2 separate regions of the Homo sapiens genome follow, and region 2 is linked to region 1. The links are contacts of gene promoters, found by promoter capture Hi-C in human tissues and cell types (Jung and others, 2019). All regions are on one chromosome and are shown on one strand. The core of a region is centred on a gene start or on the middle of the fragment in contact, and the rest is flanking DNA. Distances in the headings are between cores, read along the strand shown. Region 1 holds the start of DNAJB7 (DnaJ heat shock protein family (Hsp40) member B7). Region 2 has its middle 23 kb from the start of MCHR1.

Region 1 (6,306 bases), core at 1-2,500:
CAAATTCTTATTAGCACCAACTGTCACCACAAACTCATCCTTTTCTGACATACCCATTCAAAAAAACTACTAACCAAATGTCCACAATCCTGCTAAAAGTGTTGAAAAGCTCTTAGTATAGTATTAAGTGTTATCTACAAAATTTGTGATTAACCAAAACACACACAATTGTGTTCAAATGTTATATATTTGAAGAGTCAATTTAACAATTCCTTTTGGTAGACTTCTTTTGCACCTCTTTACGCTTCTTTTTTTTCCTCTTACCACCCTCTTTGACTCCTGCTGAGAAAATAGGGGGATCTCTGTTGCTGGTAACCCAAGATATACCTCCCTCATCATTGTCCACGAAAGTATATTGAGATACATGTTTGGAGCTGTGAGAATTTGGTGAATAGTTGTTGAATGACTGTGTTCTCCAGCTGCATTCTTTTGCAAAGCCCTCTTCATTGGCCACACTATTTACAAGAAAAAATGTCAACTCTCCATTATCTTCAGCTTCTCTTTCTTGATCACTTTCAATAATTTTCTTTGTATTAATATTTCTGCCATTAACGATTTTGTCTGAAGTTGTAACAGATATGTAGTTGTCCATCCCACTATTATCAAAAGCCAGGGAAGAGAAAGAAGTAAGGCCTTCATGCCCCAATGAACCCTGTGATGTATATCCTGTATCATATGAAGAAAATTTCTCAAAAATTGGATATTCACTGGCAGTGGAGAAAAAGTATCCTGCATCTCTGTTTCTGTTTCCATAGGAGCTTCCTGGACGATTTAACAGGTCCTCAAGCGAGTCTTCAAAGAAGTGAAAAGAAAATGGATCCCTTTCATGAAAAATTTCTTTAAAAACATCATCTGGCTTATGGAATGTGAAGCCGTACTCACATTCATCATCAAAATGACTTCCACCTCCGTTTAATCCTTCTGTGCCATATTTATCATAAATGTCCCGTTTCTCATCATTTGATAATACCTCGTATGCCTCAGCTACTTCTTTGAATTTTCTCTCTGCTTCTTCTTTATTTTCTGGATTTTTATCAGGGTGCCATTTAAGTGCCACTTTATGATAAGCTTTTTTAATGTCCTCAGGTGAAGCATATCTTTGCAGTCCTAGAACTTCATAGTAATCCACCATGTTTTAACAGATAGTTGGAAGTGGGTGTGCTGGGTATTGAGAACCGTGGTTTCCTCAGCTCAGGCTCTGCTGGTGGTGGTGATAGAGGTAGTGACTGCAAATAGGTACACTTTTATGTTAAAGACAATGTTATTACCATGTGCTAAGAGATGAGGATACTGATTATGTGGCAAGCAGAGTTACAAATATGTCAGAGAGGGCTGCATTATGGTGTCATTCTGGGGTCAGTGTAGGGACTGGACCTTCCAAATAGAGCTAGTCCAGAGTCGTACCAGACCATCCTGAATCCTCTGGACTGTTTCCCCTGTATGTTTCCCTGGAAGCTTCAGGCAGTGCCTCATAAGCCAATGGAATCTGTTGCTAATAGCCACAGCATATCCCTTGCATAATATGACCTCTAGATTACTGCGCCTTAATTGCTTCCCAGCTCTTCTATGCTTTGGTTTAGAAAAATGAAGTACTGACTTACGGGTGAAGAAAGTATTCAAACAGTTGACATATTTATTTCAGTCAAGAAACAGTTCAGAGGGAGATACAAACAAGTAACTTAGTTACAATATAATAGTTATGATGAGAGGAAGTACTGGATGCTAAACAATTATATGAGAGACAGCTCAGGCTGGGGGTGTCAATGAAAGCCTCTTGGAGGAAGTAGCCTGATATGTTAACTTTCTGCATGCCAGTGGTAAGTCATTTGAGATTATAGTATCTTTGTCCACCCAAGGTTTACTGCTGTAAAACATGTAATTAAAGATTTGGAAAGTTGTGTGTTTATGTATTCACTGTATAATTATTGATTGTCTACTTTGTGCCAGGCACCGTTTTAGCCACTGGTGATAGCAGTATTGAACAAAAGACACCAGTTTTCCTGGTGCTTGCATTATAATAGAATACAAATAGGAGAACAAATAAAATAATTTAAGATAATGCGATATGTGCTCCAAAAAAAATAGCAATGTGCTGGGGGCAGAGCGCTACTTTAGATTGGTTTTAGAAGGCTTCTGAGGAGATGACATTATTGCTGAGACCTATATGACAGTCAGCCACATAGTGATCTAATATGGTAGCCACTGGCCATGTTGATGGACATTTTGGTTGTTGCCAGTTGGGGCTGTTGGACATAAAGCTAGCACTTATTTCAAGTACAGTGGGAAGCCTTTGTGGGGAGTGGGGAATATGCAAGTTTAATGATGTGATTTACATTTGTAATGGATCAGTGGCTACTATTTGGAAATTCAGTCATGTATGGGAAAGTAGAATTCGAGAGCCAAATTAGAAACAGACCAAAGGTGATTTTCTTTGGGGATAAACTACCAGTAGTCTAGACCCGAATTTAAAGGTCTTATATTCTATACCTGGCTCATTTTATTGTCTGAGAAAATTCCCTGTAATCTTTGTTTTTCCTCCTCTATGTTGTGTTTATTTTATTTTCCATCACATTTATAACCCCTCAGTTAAATGATACGCTAATGAAATCTAAAACTGTAGTGTATGCTTCTAGTCTTTCAAGACCATTTGTCAGGTCTGAATATTTTTTTGCTTTGCATTTTTATATATACTCATTTTTTAGAGGTATTGTGAAATGCTTAAAACTCAATTTAAATTCTCTCCAGTGTATGTGCTTACATGTACTTATGTGTGGCTTACCCATGATTATAATTTGCCTACCACTGGAAATAATAACCAATAATGTCGAAAATTATTTGAGTACCCTCTGAGTCACACTGTAGCAAGTGCTCATTTAACTGACACAGCACTCTAGCAAAATAAATATTTTATGCCCATAAGAAAACAGACGTTCTGAGAGAGAAAGTAATTTGTCTAAGGCTACATAGCTTGTTAGTGAAAAATCTGATTTTTAAACTTGAGTCTAATTTCAAGTTCTCATTCCACTCTACTGCATTTCTCGGACTAGGACTTAAAGAGTTTAGGTTCTAGGCATTCCACAAACAGATACTGAGAACCTGCTGTTACCGGAAAGGGGTCCCAATCCAGACCCCAAGAGATGGTTCTTGGATCTCGTGCAAGAAAGAATTTCAGTGGAATCCACAGAGTAAAGTAAAAGCAAGTTTATTAAGAAAGTAAAGGAATAAAGAATGGCTACTCCATAGGCAGAGCAGCCCCAAGGGCTGCTGGTTGCCCATTTTTATGGTTATTTCTTGATTATATCCTAAACAGGAAGTGGATTATTCATGCTTCCCCATTTCAGACCATATAGGGTAACTTCCTGACGTTGCCATGGCATCTGTAAACTCTTGGGGTGCTGGTGGGAGTGTAGCAGTGAGGACAATCAGAGGTTACTGTCATTGCCATCTTAGTTTTAGTGGGGTTTGGCCAGCTCCTTTTTTTAAGAACATCACAGGTAAAGCTCACAGGAAGGTGACAGTCTAGGAGAAGATGTTCGCAGTGTCTAAATTTGACAGGGACTTATTTTATTTTCATTATTATTGTTACTATTATTATTATTTGAGGTGGAGTTTCGCTCTTATTGCCCAGGCTGGAGTGCAATGGTGGGGTCTTGGCTCACTGCAACATCTACCTCCCGGGTTCAAGCCATTCTCCTGCCTCAGCCCGCTGAGTAGCTGGGATTACAGGCATGCACCACCACGCCCGGCTAATTTTGTATTTTTAGTAGAGAGGGGGTTTCTCCATGTTGGTCAGGCTGATCTCGAACTCCCAACCTCAGGTGATCTGCCCGCCTCAGCCTCCCAAAGCGCTGGGATTACAGGCATGAGCCACCGCACCCAGCTGGTCAGCTTCTTTACTATAACCTACCTGTTTTATTAGCAGGGTTTTTGTGTCCTGCATTTTGTGCTGACTTCCTATTTCATTCTGTGATTAAGACTGCCTTAACTTACTGGGAATGTAGCCCAGTAGGTCTTAGCCTTATTTTACCAAACCCCTACTGAAGATGGAGTTGCTCTGGTTCAAACGCCTCTGACACTATGATACAGAGAAAAGGTAGAAAATAGGAAATTCTGCTCTTAAGAAATTCATATAGTTTGAAAAAACTAATTTCAGTGGAGTGTAAAGTTATAATACGAGCACTTGTTTCTGCAGTTATACCCTTCTTTGTTGATCCTTTGCCTCCCAGCCATCCGCTGTGCCATTTTCTCTGCCTCTTCACAACAAAACTTATCCAGAGTATTGTCTCAGTGTCTTTGCTTTCTTACATCCTATTCCCTCCTTGGCATACTCCAATCTGTCTTCTGTCTTCTTTACTCTGCTAAAATCGCCAGGGTCTCCAGTGATTGATGTTACCATATCCAGTGGTTGTCCTTTTGGCTTCCTTGTATTTTGAAGCACTTGCCACACTGTGAGCCCTCCTCACTTTTTTTTTTTTTTTTTTTTGAGATGGAGTTTCACTCTCGTTGCCCAGGCTAGAGTACAGTGGTGTGATCTCGGCTCACTGCAACCTCTACTTCCCAGGTTCAAGCCATTCTCCTGCTTCAGCCTCCCGAGTAGCTGGGATTACAGGCATGTGCCACCATGCCTGGCTAATTTTGTATTTTTAGTAGAGACAGGGTTTCTCCATGTTGGTCAGGCTGGTCTCGAACTCCCGACCTCAGGTGATCCACTTGCCTCGGCCTCCCAAAGTGCTGGGATTACAGGTGTGAGCCACTGCGCCTGGCATAGTCCTCCCCACTTCTTAAAACACTTGTTTTTTAACTTCCTAAATACCACACTCTTTTTTTGTGGGGGGCGGGGGGGCAGCGGGTAGAGACAGGGTTTAGCCATGTTGGCCAGGCTGGTCCCGAACTCCTGGCCTCAAGTGATCTGTCTGCCTGCCTCGGCCTCCCAAAGTGCTGGGATTACAAGCATGAGCCACCATGCCCAGCACTAAATACTGTACTCTTCTAGTTTTCCTTCTTTCTCCTGTGCTCTTTCTCACACTAAAATATTACAGTGCCAGGCTTTGTTCAGTCTCCCTGGGTAATACCCATTCCCAGGGCTTTAGATGCCATCTGTGTGCTTATAACACCCTAATTTATATATCTAGCCTAGCACTTTTCTCCCTGAAATTAAGATTGCTCTTTGACCTCTCCATTAAATTTATTTCCAATAAATATCTCAGGCTTTCCTGTTGCATGTAGTGGTACAACCATTTATTCACTTGTTCAAGTCAAAAATCAAGAATTATTCTTAATTCCTCTTTTTTCTTTATTTCTTATGTCCAATTAGAAGCCAGACTCATTGACTTTTAACTTCAAAATACATTTCAAATCAAGTCACTGGGAAAATAAAGTCAAATAACAAGTGATCTCTGCTTCCAAAGATTGTTCATAGTAGACTGGCAAACTAATTAGCAATTATGTGAAGTGTAGTAGGTATTAAAATAGAAATCATAGGAGCGTTGGGGAAGACATCTGAAACAAGCAGAACAGAGGCAGTAGGTGTGAGAAGAGTAAGAGAAGTCTCTTGCGTAAGTGATGTTTGAGCTGGTATTTTTTAGAATTTCTGTAATCGTATAAGCAGGCAGTGTCCACTTTAGACTAAGAGAACTATATTTTTTAATGCAAATGCTATTATGATGCAGAATGATTTAGCCGGGGTTCTTCAAGTAGCTTAGTGTGGCTGCAATAATGTTTTTTGAGGATTAGGTCAGATAAGGGAGCAGGATCCAAATCATGAAGTTTCCTAAGCAAAAGAGTTTGAAGCTTATGAACTGGATATTTTTGAAATAGGACTTAACACACCAGCTTTGCTACTAATTATATGACTTCGGGCAAAAGATGTTTAATGTAAGTAAAAAGCTATTGAGACCTTTTTTAAAAATTTACTGGGAATAAACATCTTAATTTATGTCTCCTGTTAAAGTGTTACTTGTTTGCTTTGAATTTAATAAAGTTAAGCTCCCTCTGCTTGAGAGTGGTCCAAAATATGCTAGGATTATTTCATATGAGCATTGAAAAAGGAATCAGTTAACTTTTTATATTCTGAAATTTTACTGCCTAATGAGATTACAGAAGACACTATGTGTGCATGAGTACGTGTGCACGAGCGTGCATGTGGAGAAGGTGCAGGAGGAGAGAAAGAGAAATCACCAATGCAACAGCAGCCTACTCCACCAGTGGGTTAGTGCTGCTGGAGGGAGATGAAAAGATTAGGAAGGTAAGATAGCTTTGAAGGCTTTGTATTCTAAATTAAGGAGTTAGATTTTTAACTGTCACGTG
Region 2 (6,306 bases), core at 2,094-4,593, 160 kb before region 1:
AAGCAGAGAACTACTGTGGGAACTTCTGGAAAAAGGTTTTCTTTTCTCTCTCTCTTTTTTTTTTTTTTTTTGAGAGAGAGTTTCACTCTTGTCACCCAGGCTGGAGTGCAATGGCACGATCTCGACTCACTGCAACCTCCACCTCCCAGGTTCAAGCAATTCTCCTGCCTCAGCCTCCCAAGTAGCTGGAATTACAGACGCCTGCCACCACGCGCAGCTAATTTTTTGTATTTTTAGTAGAGACGGGGTTTCACCGTATTGGCCAGGCTGGTCTTGAACTCCTGATCTCAGGTGATCCGCCCACCTCGGCCTCCCAAAGTGCTGGGATTACAGGCATGAGCCACTGTGCCTGTCTCAGAAAAAGGTTTTCTTTCCTCATAAAAGAAAACAGATAAGGTTGGTACTAGCCGGGCTCTTCCTCCTTTCTCCCTGTCTTGAATGCAGACGCAACGTCTGAAGGTGCACATATTGTCTTGGGACCCTAAGAATACAAACCGAAATACTAAGGTTGATGAGGCAAGAAGGCAAAGAACAGGGGTACTGGCCGGGCGTGGTGGCTCACACCTGTAATCCCAGCACTTTGGGAGGCCGAGGCAGATGGATCACCTGAGGTCAAGAGTTTAAGACCAGCCTGGCCAACATGGGGAAACCCTGTCTCTCCTAAAAAATTCAAAAATTAGCCGGGTGTGGTGGTAGGCGCCTGTAATCCCAGCTACTCGGGAGACTGAGGCAAGGAAAATTGCTTGAACCGGGAGATGGAGGTTGCAGTGAGCCAAGATCACACTACTGCACTCTAGCCTGGGCGACGCAGCAAGACTCTGTCTCAAAAAAAAAAAAAAAAAAAAAAAGAACAGGGTACCCAAGGCATCACTGATTTGTGGAACAAACACCATCTTCTAGACTTCCTGTTGTGCAAGAAAAATAAATCTGTATTTGTTTAAGCAACTTTTCTGTTAATTGCCAGTCAAAGGCAACCCCTAACTTACACAGAAGTGGTAAATATACTACTTTGGCTGGGGTGCAATAAACTTGCCTCTTATTCTTCCTCTAATTATTCCATTAGATAAACTCTTAGCAGTGGAATTAAATCTAATCAAATGGTATAGTGGACATTCAGTTTTGTCTTCCTAGACTCCATAACCCATTCCTGACAATATCCTGAACTTCCAACCTTGTGGTTTAGAAAGTACTGACTTCATCCCAGCTCCAGGGATGGGCCCTCACTGGCTTTAACCAATCACCTCAGCCTCCCAAGTAGCTGGGACTACAAGCATATACCACCACCCCTGTCTAATTTATTTTAAAAGCTATTTGAAGTGTGTTTTCTGTTACTTGAAATGAGGATGCCCTAAGTGTTAAGAAAGTTATAAACATTTTTAGGATCAGGTCGGTGTATTGGTGCTGTGGACTGAATTGTGTCCTCTAAAAATTCCTAGGTTGAAGCTGAAGGAGTGAAGTATGTGCCATCCCAAAATATGCCAAATTGGTATGTTGATTATTTCGTTGAAAACATTGGAGGGGCCAGGCGTGAGTGCCTGTAATCCCAGCGCTTTGGGAGACAAAGGCAGGAGGATCACTTGAGCTCAGGAGTTCGAGGCCAGCCTGGGCAACAAAGTGAAACCCTTTCTCTATATTAACAACAACAAAAAAAGACACCTGTAATCCCAGCACTTTGGGAGGCCAAGGCAGGTGGATCACCTGAGCTCAGGAGTTGGAGACCAGCCTGGCCAACATGGTGAAACCCCGTCTCTACTAAAAAATACAAAAATTAGCTGGGCATGGTGGCATGCACCTGTAATCCCAGCTATTCTGGAGGCTGAGGCAGGAGAACCACTTGAACCCAGCAGGCGGAGGTTGCAGTGAGCCAAGATCATGCCACTGCACTCCAGCCTGGGCAACAGAGTGAGACTGTCTCAAGAAAAAAAAAAAAAGAAAAAAAAAGAAAACTTTGGAGAAAATGTGGTTTCAGAAAGGGTGAGCTGACCTGTCTCTTCCTGCATGCAGCAAGCCATAAGGATTCCTCTGGGAGGGGTACACTCCCCTTATCAGGGGGGTGAAAATATCCCTTATCACCAGAGACTGGAAGTTGGGGGCTGCAGTGCAGTGGACCTGAACAACTATACTTCATGAAGTAACCTTTATTTTCTTTTCCTTTTTTTTTTTTTTTGAGACAGAATCTGTCTCACCCAGGCTGGAGTGCAATGGCACAATCTCGGCTCACTGCAACCTCTGCCTCCCGGGTTTAAGAGATTCTCCTGCCTCAGCCTCCCGCGTAGCTGGGATTACAGGCATGCACCAACAGGCCTGGCTAATTTTTGTACTTTTAGTAGAGATGGGGTTTCACCATTTTGGCCAGGCTGGTCTCAAACTCCTGACCTCAGATGATCCGCCTGCCTCGGCCTGCCAGAGTGCTGGGATTACAGGTATGAGCCACTGCACCTGGCGCCCGAAATGACCTTTCTATTCTGCTGGTTGTATACCCTCCCATACATCTCCCGGTGACTCCCTTAGAAATTTACTGCCCGTAACCAGATCCCTTTTGCCCTGTTATTTCTTCTCAAATGTATTGTTCTTTGTCGAAAAAGTATAAATGCATCTTACTTTGGCCACTTCTTCAGACTTCACTCTTGTGAAGATCCCTGTGTACATGGAAAACTAATAAAGCTTATATGCTTTTATCTTGCTACTCTGCCTTGTGTCAATTTGGTCTCTAGATATAGCTGAGAGCCCACATAAGAGGCACATGAGGTTGGAGGTGATCTCTCACTCTGCTGCAAAACAAAGCCCTAACCCCCAAATGTGTTAGTATCTGGAGATGGAGTCTTTGGGAAGCGATCCGGTTTAGAGGAAGTCTTGAGGGTGTGGCCCTTATAAGAAGAGACATCAGAAAGCTTGCTTCCCCTCTGCCTCTCTCCACCTGCACACTTCTGTGAGGATACAGAAGACTGATGTCTGCAAGCCAGAAAGAGTCTTTTATTTATTTATTTATTTTTGAGATGGAGTCTCACTCTGTCACCCAGGCTGGAGTGCAGTGGCACAATTTCAGCTCACTATACTTTCTGAAGTAACCTTTCTTTTTTTTTTTGAGACAGAATCTCCCTCTTTCGCCCAGGCTGGAGGGCAATGGCGCAATCTCGGCTCACTGCAACCTCCACCTCCCGGGTTCAAGCGATTCTCCTGCCTCGGCCACCTGAGTAGCTAGGATTACAGGTGCCCACAACCAAGCCCAGCTAAATTTTGTATTTTTAGTAGAGATGGGGTTTCACCATGTTGGCCAGGCTGGTCTTGAACTCCTGACCTCAGGTGATCCGCCCACCTCGGCCTCCCAAAGTGCTGGGATTACAGGCATGAACCACCACACCCGGCCAAGTCTGGCCAGGAAGAGAATCCTCAGCAGGAATGCAATTGGCTGGCACTTTGATCTGGGACTTCCCAGCCTCCAGAATCAGGAGAAATAAATGCCTGTTGTTTAAGCCGCCCGGTATTTTATTATATCAGCCTGAGCTGACTAAGATGATTTGTGAGAGCTTTTTTTGTTGTTGTTGTAAATGTTAGAAATTTAACTCTGATTTGAGCAAAAAGGGGGAATGTATTGGCTTATTAAAGGGAAACGTTGAGGACTAGATCTGGCTTTAAGTCATGACTGGATCCAAGGGCTCAAGGCCATCGGGACAGACATTCCCTTTCTCTCTTCCTCACATTTTATTTTATTTTATTTATTTATTTTTTGAGATGGAGTCTCGCTCTGTCATCCAGGCTGGAGTGCAGTGGTGCAATCTCAGCTCACTGCAACCTCTGCCTCCCAGGTTCAAGCAGTTCTCTGCCCCAGCCTCCCGAGTAGCTGGGATTACAGGCCCTCGCCACCACGCCCAGCTAATTTTTTTTTTTTTTTTTTTTGTATTTTTAGTAGAGACAGGGTTTCACCATCTTGGCCAGGCTGGTCTTGAACTCCTGACCTGTGATCCACCCACCTCAGCCTCCCAAAATGCTGGGATTACAGGCGTGAGCCACCGCGCCCACCCTCTTCCTCACGATTTATCTCTCCTCACTGTCTGGCTCAGTTTTCCTCTCTTTTGGCTTCCTTCTCATAGGGGATGTTCTCCCAAGTGGTAGCAAAGATGGTGCCCAGCAGGCATGTAAACTTGCCTTGTTCCTACTGGCAGCAGCTCCAGGAATTAGCATATCTTCTTTCCTGCTACCCGGTACTCCTTGCCACCTTTCTCCCCAGTGTCTGTTTCAAACCCTGAATAAGCCTCTGATTGGTCCTGTATGAGTTACATATCTTCCCACTTCCACCCAATCAAGCATGAAAACCAGAGAAGTGGAACACACTTATTGGCTAGGATCAGTCACATGGGTATCCCCACTGTGTCCTTGTCTGTGTCTCAGCTTGATACATTCTGTGTTCTCAGATCCTCCTGGGGTCTGTTTTGCAACATGTGACAAGAAAGTAATCTGGGCTTGTTGAAGTGGCTCATGCCTGTAATGCCAACACTTTGTGAGGCCAAGGCAGGAGGATCACTTGAGCCCAGGAGTTTGAGACCAGCCTGGACAACATAGGAAGACCCCATCTCTATTAGAAACAAAGAAAGTTTAAAGTAGATTTAGAGGTTGAAAAAAAAATAAGAAGAAAGAAAGTAACCTGGTTGCAATTACGTGGTTGTAACAGCAGCCTGGAGACAAACCAATTCATTGCAAAAGGGAAAAACGAGAGAGTTTGGTTCATGGCAGTTCTGCTGTCTCTCTATCCTAGTCTCTCCAGAAAAAAAGGCCCAAAAGCTAAATGCCGGCAACATTACCAACCCTGGACAAAGCTCTTACTTGCCAGACAAATGGACTTTGGGCACATGCTGCCTGGCACCTCTGCCTTGCATGGTGTCCCCTCGGGTCAGCCCACCCTCCCTGCACTAACCATCTGAGACCAGCTGGCTGGCACAGCAGGCCCACCCAAGCCTGGAGAGTGGCTGCCCCGCCTCAGCCTGGCCGCCAGCCAATAAGAGCTTTGCCAGAGCTTATACATTTCTGGTGGCCTCCCCAACTCTCTTTCCTTCCTTCCTTGGGAAATGGAGTAAAGAGCAAGAAACCAGAAATTAAGAAAAATCTTCTGAAGGAAACGGGGAAGGGAATCTTAAATGCCATCCATCTTTTCGGTAAAGCACTCCTAAATGTGACCAGTCCCCTGCTGTCTCCATCTCCTTGACCACTCAGTCGACCACTCTCTACTTTATTTATTTATTGAGACAGAGTCTCACTCTGTTGCCCAGGCTGGAGTGCAGTGCCACAATCTTGGCTCACCGCAACCTCCACCTCCCTGGTTCAAGCAATTGTCCTGCTTCAGCCTCCCAAGTAGCTGGGACCACAGGCACGTACCACTACACCCAGCTAATTTTCATATATATATATATATATATATATATATATATATTTTTTTTTTTAGTAGAGATATATATGTTTATATATATATATTTTTAGTAGATATATATATCTATATATATAGATATATATATATTTTTTTAGTAGAGAAAGGGTTTCACCAAATTGGCCAGCCTGGTCTCGAACTCCTGGCCTCAAGTGTTCCTCCCGCCTTGGCCTCCCAAAGTGCCGAGATTACAGGCATGAGCCACCTCTTTACTGATGCCTCTCAAATCCTTATCTCCCTTTCTGACCCCCTGGTTCGAATATTTCCATCTGTTCACATGACAATTCTATCATCCCAGACTCAATAAAGTGAAACCATTTTCCATTATCTTTCTACCACTTACCATCCACACTAACTTACTCTCTAAAATTCCCCATTTCTAGGCCGGGAGCAGTGGCTCATACCTGGAATGCCAGCACCTTGGGAGGCTGAGGCAAGCGGATTGCTTTGAGCTCAGGAGTTTGAGACCAGCCTGGCCAACAAGGTGAAACCCTATCTCCACAAAAATACAAAAATTAGCTAGGCATTGGTGACTTGTGCCTGTAGACCCAGCTACTTGGGAGGCTGAGGCTGGAGAACCACTTGAACCTGAGATGTGGAGGTTGCAGTGAGTTGAGATCATACCACTGCACTCCATCCTGGTGACAGAGTGAGACTCATTCTCAAAAGAATAAAATTAAAAACAAAAAAATCCCCCATTTCCATTCAGGATATTCTGTCCCTTGCTCTTCATTCCTAAAAAGAACAAACTATTTTTCTCTACACACTCACTGTAGTTTCTCTACCATACTTTGCTTCTGACACCAAATTTGTAAGAAGTTCTCCCACATCAAACAATGCTCCAATTAGCATCAGGGGATGCTGACCAGGTGTCTTACAATTAAACT

What was found. The method cuts DNA at HindIII sites, captures the fragments that hold promoters and counts their contacts. A contact is called where the count stands out against the background at its distance.
Region 2: a contact is called between a fragment that was not itself captured here and the fragment with the promoter of DNAJB7 in region 1, in 1 of the 25 tissues and cell types used here (small bowel).

Annotation. Positions count from the first base shown.
Region 1 is chr22:40,860,863-40,867,168 of GRCh38, forward strand. It overlaps DNAJB7 (DnaJ heat shock protein family (Hsp40) member B7), which reads right to left and starts at 1,251. Exons shown (of 1, transcript NM_145174.2): 1 at 1-1,251. The coding sequence starts at 1,132. The coding sequence ends at 203. The region is part of intron 1 of XPNPEP3 (X-prolyl aminopeptidase 3); the gene reads left to right. The HindIII fragment of the contact is 4,259 bases long and covers 1-3,622 here.
Region 2 is chr22:40,698,990-40,705,295 of GRCh38, forward strand. No RefSeq gene overlaps it. Among named protein-coding and RNA genes, the nearest start is that of MCHR1, 23 kb to the left of the region's middle. The HindIII fragment of the contact is 6,289 bases long and covers 200-6,306 here.